Regions from separate parts of the Homo sapiens genome. Here all the other regions are linked to region 3. Evidence: promoter capture Hi-C in human tissues and cell types (Jung and others, 2019). All regions are on one chromosome and are shown on one strand. Each heading gives the region's core, a stretch centred on a gene start or on the middle of the fragment in contact. The rest is flanking DNA. Distances are from core to core; before and after follow the strand shown. Region 1 overlaps KDM5B (lysine demethylase 5B). Region 2 has its middle 5.8 kb from the start of SYT2. Region 3 holds the start of RABIF (RAB interacting factor).

Region 1 (2,700 bases), core at 76-2,575, 140 kb after region 3:
CTAACTATTCAGTTAATGATATCCTTTCATATAACTTCCTGTAAAAGGCTGAGAGACCACTCAGCATCTTCCCAAACTCAATTTCTGCACGATAGTCTTTTCCACTCGTCCCATCTTCTTTCCTTTTATTTTTGTCCTTTTAATAGATTCTCCATATTTCCTCAGAAGTAGGAAACATATTCCTTTCTTTTAATCTTATCTATACCTCTTATCTATACCCAAAATGTGGACAAGGCTAATTTGTAGTAGAACAGATAACTAATCTCAGTAGTTTTACAGTCCTATGGTGTTCATACTCAGATCAAAATGACCAAACATAAGGACCTGCCTTGTCTGAAAAAGGAGATCTCCCTAGACAAATGAACTTGCCTGTATTTGCTAGGTCATTTGTTTCTTTGTATGCCACACATTTTTAATCATGCATCCCTATTTTGGTAAAGCTTTTTTTTTTTTTTCAGACTCAAGTACTACTGCATGTTTGTCTTGGGCTGGTGGATTATATTATCCTTTGGAGGTCTCTCTAAAGTATACTTTATTCTAGGGAGTGATTGATTCGGAAAGAATGGATTTTGAGCTGTTGCCAGATGATGAACGTCAGTGTGTAAAATGCAAAACTACATGCTTCATGTCTGCCATCTCCTGTTCTTGTAAACCTGGCCTTCTTGTTTGCCTGCATCATGTAAAAGAATTGTGTTCCTGTCCTCCTTACAAATATAAATTGCGGTAAGTAGGAAGAACGATTTTTTTTCCTATGGAAAACAGTTGATCCTTACTAAAAGCTCAATGATACCGCAGTTCTAGGGCTGAAATGTTAAGTATAAAACATCTAGTTTTCTCCAAAGCTACACGTCTCAAAGCTAAGTGTGGTGGTATTATTTCCAGGTATAGGTACACGCTGGATGATCTCTACCCTATGATGAATGCATTGAAGCTTCGAGCAGAATCTTACAACGAATGGGCCTTGAATGTGAATGAAGCTTTGGAGGCAAAGATCAACAAGAAGAAAAGTATGTGATACAGAAAGTGACTTGGTGATTGGCAAATTGGGGCTTATTGTGATGTAGCCAAATTAAAGTCAACAAAACATTTCTTGAAACAGCCTGACCTCATCCTTGGTTAGCCCCTCTACATAGCCCGGTTTACAGAGCACCGGCAGAGAAGGTTTTAAAACCAAGAGTGGATAAGGCAGTTGCCCTTACATCCCAGTGAAATTTTGTTATATGAGTTGTGCAACATCACTTACTTAACAAAAACGATATTGTTAGGAAACCTTTATTTTTGTCTCAGAAATAAAAATTTCACATTTCTTACAAAGATGTTGAAATCTTTAAAAAAACAAAAACAAAAACAAAGCATCTTGTGACAAAGGCAGCATGACACTAAATCAGGAGTCTCTGAAATGGTAGTTTATCACTTCTTAGTTCTAATTAAAGTTAAGGTCCCTGGCACTTGTCATTACCTTTGAAAGTCACTGCTACCCTTTATATCTCTCTCTCTCTTTTTTCTTATGAAAATATAGTTTGTTTTTTGCTTTTTACTTTTCACCTCAGGGGTATATGTGCAAGCTTGTTACATAGATAAACTTGTGTCATGGGCGTTTGTTGTACAGATTATTTCATCATCCAGGTATTAAGCTTAGTACCCATTAGTTATTTTTCTGGAGCCTCTCCCTCCTCCTGCCCTCCACCCTCCAATAGGCTCCATTGTGTGTTGTTCCCCTGTATGTGTTCACGTGTTACTCCCCTGTATGCATCCATGTGTTTTCATCATTTAGCTCCCACTTAATAAGTGAGAATATGCAGTATTTGCTTTCCTGTTCCTAGTGTTAGTTTGCTAACTAATTGCCTCCAGTTCCATCCATGTTCCTGCAAAGGACACGAGCTCATTCTTTTTTATGGCTGCATAGTATTCCATGGTGTATATGTACCACATTTTTCTTTATCCAGTCTATCATTGATGGGTATTTAGGTTGATTCTATGTCTTTGCTATTGTGAATAGTGTTGCAGTGAACATACACATGCATGTGTCTTTATAAATGGAATGATGTATATTCCTTTGGGTATATACCCAGTAATGGCATTGCTCGGTCAAATGGTATTTCAGTCTTTAGATCTTTGAAGAATCACCACACTGTCTTCCACAATCGTTGAACTAATTTACACTTCTACCAACAGTGTATATGCGTTCCCTTTTCTCCACAACCTTGCCAGCATGTTACTTTTTGACTTTTTAATAATAGCCATTCTGACTGGTATGAGGTGATATCTCATTGTGGTGTTTTTTTTGTTTGTTTTTGTTTTTGTTTTGAGACGGAGTCTTGCTCTGTCACCCAGACTGGAGTGCAGTGGTGCGATCTCGGCTCACTGCAACCTCCACCTCCTGGGTTCAAGCAATTCTCCTGCCTCAGCCTCCTGTGTAGCTGGGACTACAGGCACGTGCCAACATGCCCAGCTAATTTTTGTATTTTTAGTAGAGACAGGATTTCACCATGTTAGTCAGGCTGGCCTTGAACTCCTGACCTTGTGATCTGCCTGCCTCGGCCTCCCAAAGTACTGGGATTACAGGCGTGAGCCACTGCGCCCGGCCTTTCATTGTAGTTTTGATTTGCATTTCTCTAATGATCAGTGATGTTGAGCTTTTTTTCATATGATTGTTGGCCATACGTATGTCTTCTTTTGAAAAGTATCTTTTCATATCCT
Region 2 (2,723 bases), core at 156-2,655, 170 kb after region 3:
CAGGAGTTCGAGACCAGCATGACCAACATGGTGAAACCCTGTCTTTACTGAAAATACAAAAATTAGCCAGGCATGGTGGTGGGCGCCTGTAATCCCAGCTACTTGGGAGGCTGAGGCAGGAGAATTGCTTGAACCCAGGAGGAGGAGGTTGCAGTGAGCCAAGATCGCACTACTGCACTCCAGCCTAGGCAATAGAGCAAGACTCCATCTCAAAAATAAATAATTAAAAAGACCAATAAACATGTTTTGCTTGTAGGTCTTAGCATGTGTGCACATGTGCGTGCACACACGAACACACACACAGCTATCTTGAGTCTAGAAATGAGACCATGTGCAATCAATGTTCTGTGGCCAGGGGTTAGGGTGGTAGGAACAGGATCTAACAAAGGGTGTTCAATCCTCCTTTTTGAACTTTTCTCCAGCCAGGCCCTAGACAGTATGAGGAGGTAGGCAGCTATCCCATGGCTTCTAGACTCACTGGGCTTCCTTGGGAAAGTCACTCAACCTCTCTGGAGCAAACAATGTAGAGAATCATCATTAGGCTTGCTGGTCTTCTGGAGCCAGAAATAATAACAGTTACTGTAATACTCAATACGCACTGAGCACTGACTGAGCATCAGGTACTGTCCTAGATATCAGATAACCTAAGCTGACTCTCACCATGCTGCTATGAAATGAAGTCACTAACTCATGGCCTCTGAGAGGTGAGCCGAGATTGGAACTCAGGAAGTCTGTCTCCAGAATCCAAAGTGGTGAGCACGGCAGTATGTAGTATGCAGCCTCCTTTCAGAAGTCAGCAAAGGAAGGGAACTTACAGGCCCTCTAACCCAACTCCAGCTGTGAGTGGTTTTTCTAAAAGCATAAAATGGATTATGCTTAGATTCCTTCAATGGTTTCCATTACCTTCTGAAGAAAATCCAAACAGTTGGTCTACAGAATCTGTCATGAGCTTGCCTTTGCCTCTGATCTTTCCCTCCTCCCCAAACCTACCCTATACTCTAGCTCCACTGAGCTATTTACATTTCCCTAAGCCACATAATAGAAGCTACCTATTTTGTTAAGGCCCTGCTTGCTGTTTAGAACCATTATACTATTTAATTTTCACAACAATCCCTCAAAGTAGGTGGTGAAGTCTTCATTTAACAAATAAGGAAACTGAGGCGTTAGAGTAGTCACATAGCTTTCTGACTCCAGTGCTTAAGCTCTTCAATGAGTGCACTGTATACTTTTATCCACTACTGCTGTCTTTGCCTGGGATGCCATTCTCTTCATTGCCTACCTAGAAAACCAGTCTTTCCTCTGGTGGTAGCTGAAAGGTTATTTCATCAGGGAAGCCTGCCGTTATTTCTTGACTTCCTACCAGGTTGAGTTAGTGGCTCTCTCTCTGGTTCCCACAGCATCTTATACTTTTCTTTTGGTACATGTTTCTCACTCCCTGCATCAAGGAGGCTGTGAAATCCTTGAAGTATTTAAGTGTTCCCCTCCACGTTGCCCGCTCCCTGCAGGGCTCCTGACAGATAATACCCTGGGTGGTGGTATTATCTGCACTCTAGGCAATTGCTTTTTTCCGGGTGTTTTTGTTTGTTTGTTTGTTTGTTTTCTTTTTCTTTTTTGAGACCGAGTTTTGCTCTTGTCACCCAGGATGTGGTGCAATCTCGGCTCACTGCAATATCCACCTCCCAGATTCAAGAGATTCTCCTTCCTCGGCCTCTCAAGTAGCTGGGATTACAGGCGCTTGCCACCACGCCCAGCTAATTTTTGTATTTTTAGTAGAGACAGGGTTTCACCGTGTTGGTCAGGCTGGTCTTTAACTCCTTACCTCAGCTGGTCCTCCTACCTCGGCCTCTCAAAGTGCTGGGATTACAGGCGTGAGCCACCGCACCCGGCCGTGGTAAATGTTATTGACTGGATAGGTGATGGGTACGTGGACAAATACGAAGCTTAAGAGACTTGTTCCAGATTTGCTCCTGAGCTACAGAGAAGAGTGGCAGATGGACTTGGGATACTGAAGAAAGGACCGTATCAGTCCTAGAGCTTCTTTCCCACATGTCTCTGCTGTGGCTTCTTGTGCTTTGGTGCTTGCCTTCCACAGCTAGGGCACATCCCAAGGGCAGTTCTGAGATACAACTCCAATTTATGGAGAGTTTTAATGGACACACGGATATTAAAGCACCAGGGTTAATTATTCAGAAAATGTTTCAACTGACTTGCTTTTCATCTCCCCCATGATGGGTAGCTTCAAAGCCTACAGTTGCCTTCTGGTAAGAAGAGACATCCTGCCCTTGTGTGATTAGTAGTCTGAGCCATTTGCTCTTCACATTCCGGAAGGTGAGCACCTCAGAAGAACCTTCTCTTCTATGAGAGGGGGAAAACTGAGGCTCAGCGAAACTTACCTGGGACATAAAACTGTGACTGGTACTTCATTGCAGAAGGAAGAAGGGTCTGCTCTGGTGTTGTAGGTTGATATTTCCTTTGAGAAGGAAAAACAATCATTGTTACTATATGAAAAGACAAGGTCCTCATGACATTCTTTAGTTCCTGGGATCTGATAAAATTCTGTGATTATTATTTGCATCCTAGTGACTTTCTTCCACATGCCAGATATGGTCTTGAAAACTTTAAAAAGCTTCCCCTCTAGGAGTATAATGTTATAGATCCAGTAGTCCTCTGTCTGCCCCATTCTGTTGTATTTAAACATTTTATCTGAGCTCAGAGTTATTTGT
Region 3 (2,801 bases), core at 196-2,695:
CAGGAAGAGATCCAGGGGAGGGTGAAGGACTGATGGCTCCTATGCTGTCTTCAGTGCTGACTAATGAGTTTCAGACCAACTTCACAAATAGTTCATACACTGAAGCCACAATGGTATGTTCTACAGAAAAATCAACACGTAAAACAGCTCCTTTTTCACTCTTCACAATCGTACACACTTTCATGTGCTCACATACATACACAGAGATACCCCTAATTTGGTGGTTCATCTTATTTTTTTAAGCTCCCATAACTGGCAACCAGCTACTTAGTTATCTAACCTGGGAAAACCAGCAGTTGCTTTGTGTCACCCCCATCACAATACAGACATCCAGCTAGTTTCTAAGTTCTGTACAATTTTAATTGTTTCAAGTCCATTCCCATATCTTTGTTCCCTCTGCTAGCTTCAGGGCCTTTCTGAGCTAGACTGATGAGGTAATAGCTACCTGATACCTTACCTCTACTCTTTTTCCTCTCTTCAATCTAGCCCCTCTATTTATTCATAGGTTATCTTTCTGAAGCACAGATAGGATCATTACAGTGCTTAACATACAGCAGACAGTAAATATCGAACAGTTATTTCTGGCCTAAAATTCCACAGATTCCCATTGTTCATGTTATTAATGTTAAATTCCTTAGCATGACATTAAAGCCATGGAGCTCTGGGCCCACTCTGCCTTACCTACCTCTACTACCACTTCTCCCCACGTGTAATGTGGGTCAGCCACAGTGGTCTACTAACCATTCCTAAATTTGTTCTCACCCTTGTTCATATATAATACTGTTCTGTCTGAAATAATCTTGCTTTCCTGACAATCCTAGTTAATTAAGAGCAGTGGCTTTAGAGTTGTGCTGCAACCTTTCTGATCTTTACCTTTCTCATTTTGTGCACAAGCGTGCCGACCCCGTAAGGAAACTGATGATTTAGTAAGTTTCTAAAGGCGCTTTGACACATTTTGCCGCATAGTAAATGGTCACAATGAGTAGAAGAGACCAGCAATTAAAGTTTCCACGCATCTTTTTCCAATACCGAAAAGATACATGCCCCTCTAAGTAGTTTCCTATAGAAGAAGCTAATGTGGCTAAAACTTGATGGGAAGTCCGACCCAGATTCCCTTCATATTGCCCCCAATAATGTCCCCATTTATTCAGGAGACTAAATTCAGATCCCAGAAAACTAAACAGTAAGGTCAACCTAATGATTTGTCTAGGTTTTAAGTGAAGCCCAGTGGCCAGGTGGGTATGGAGATGTGTCACTGGTGCCAAGAAGTGTCCCTGTCACAAAGCCTGCCGACACCTAGCCACTTAGGTTAGGCAATGAATGAAGGCGCTTGCGCAGTAGAGTCCAGAGCGGGGAAGCGGGCGCCTGCGCAGAGACATAGTGACCGTCCGCTCGCCGCCCCGCCTCTGCCAAGCCGCGCCAGCGCAGTGAATAACGAGCCAGCAGAGACAGCGTCTGCGCAGCCGTGGCTGAGGAGCCTGTGGCGGCAGCGGCGATGGAACCAGCGGAGCAGCCGAGCGAGTTAGTGTCAGCCGAGGGCCGAAACCGGAAGGCGGTGCTGTGCCAGCGTTGCGGCTCCCGGGTGCTGCAGCCAGGGACCGCTCTCTTCTCTCGCCGACAGGTAGGGAGGCAGGTTGGAGGCCGTTTACACCCACAGTCTCCCCCGACGAGCCGCCGCAGTCAGAATCTGAACCCCGGCTCTTCAATTTCCGGCAACCGCGCCCTCCTCGCGCGGCCTTAAGCCCCGCCCCTCGGGCCTCAGCTCGGCGAGGCTCCGCCCCTGGGGCCGCTGAAGGCTAGGGAGGGAACCGGGTCCCGCCCCGGCATCTTTTGCCGCGGGAACCCTTCCCTGGGCCACCCGGCCCAGCCAGCCCGGCCCTCTGCCCCCGGGGGGGCTTCGAGCGCGGGCCGTGCGCCCCGCCGCCGTCCAAGGCCGGTGCTCCGCGGGCGCGTGGAAGGGAGGCGCCCCATTCCGGCTCTCGGAGCTCCCGCCAGCTTGCAGGACCCGGCAGGTGCCTCTCGGCCGCCGCTCACCGCGGGTGTTGCTGGGTTCCTTTCCCACTTTAGACCTCACCCGCCAGTCCTGAATTCACCGTCTCATTTATGACGGGCACCTATCTGCTCCACAGAGGATCCCCAGGAACAACTGGTGTTGGGGACGCGGCAAAATAACCCTGGTAACCTACCCACTTTACCGAGGCACTGGAAGCCTGTGGTTTTCCAGATGAATCATATTTCAAGTGCAGTAGATCCCTGACGTCCTGGAAGTAAATTTCGAAGAAAAACTTTTTTTTTCCCTTCAGTTTAGGGATTTTAATACCCTTCCTACCACCATCATCGCAAGTGAGAAAGTTGAAAAAAAAATTTATTTCGGTAAACTGTGTTGAAGTGCAAATATAATGTCATTTCAACCATAGACACATCCTATCATTCAAAATTATTTCTAAAAATATGCAGATCATTTTATTATTTCACGTGCTTGAACAGATGGTGAAGTGTAATGTCTAGTAGAAGAGCAAGAGGTACCCATTCGTCCAAAACAGCCTTTCATCAAAGGAGGAAAAAAGGGAATCTGTGTCTGTTGTTTTGTAGGTATTTTGATGACTTTTGATCTAGAGATTGGTGGAGGTCCCGGGGTTCTTTTAAGACTTCAAGGTTTAGGAGTAGAGTTCTCAATTAATTTTACGAAGTTAGTGGCATTATGGAGTCAGTGGAAAGAACATGGATCTTGGAATTGAAACATACATGGAATTGAGTCCTGACTATCATTCATTAACATTAAAACAGTTAGGCTGGGCGCG

What was found. Contacts are between HindIII fragments. The study calls those that stand out against the background at their distance.
Region 1: a contact is called between a fragment that was not itself captured here and the fragment with the promoter of RABIF in region 3, in 3 of the 25 tissues and cell types used here (hippocampus, mesenchymal stem cells and small bowel).
Region 2: a contact is called between a fragment that was not itself captured here and the fragment with the promoter of RABIF in region 3, in 1 of the 25 tissues and cell types used here (adrenal gland).

What each region holds. Positions count from the first base shown.
Region 1 is chr1:202,744,165-202,746,864 of GRCh38, reverse strand. It overlaps KDM5B (lysine demethylase 5B), which reads left to right. Exons shown (of 27, transcript NM_006618.5): 15 at 542-723; 16 at 883-1,007. Among named protein-coding and RNA genes, the nearest start is that of SYT2, 35 kb to the right of the region's middle. The HindIII fragment of the contact is 4,315 bases long and covers 1-2,700 here.
Region 2 is chr1:202,714,942-202,717,664 of GRCh38, reverse strand. No RefSeq gene overlaps it. Among named protein-coding and RNA genes, the nearest start is that of SYT2, 5.8 kb to the right of the region's middle. The HindIII fragment of the contact is 3,632 bases long and covers 1-2,723 here.
Region 3 is chr1:202,887,793-202,890,593 of GRCh38, reverse strand. RABIF (RAB interacting factor) reads left to right here and starts at 1,445. Exons shown (of 2, transcript NM_002871.5): 1 at 1,445-1,621. The coding sequence starts at 1,496. RefSeq lists an enhancer at 1,410-1,679 and a silencer at 1,750-2,039. The HindIII fragment of the contact is 13,847 bases long and covers 1-2,801 here.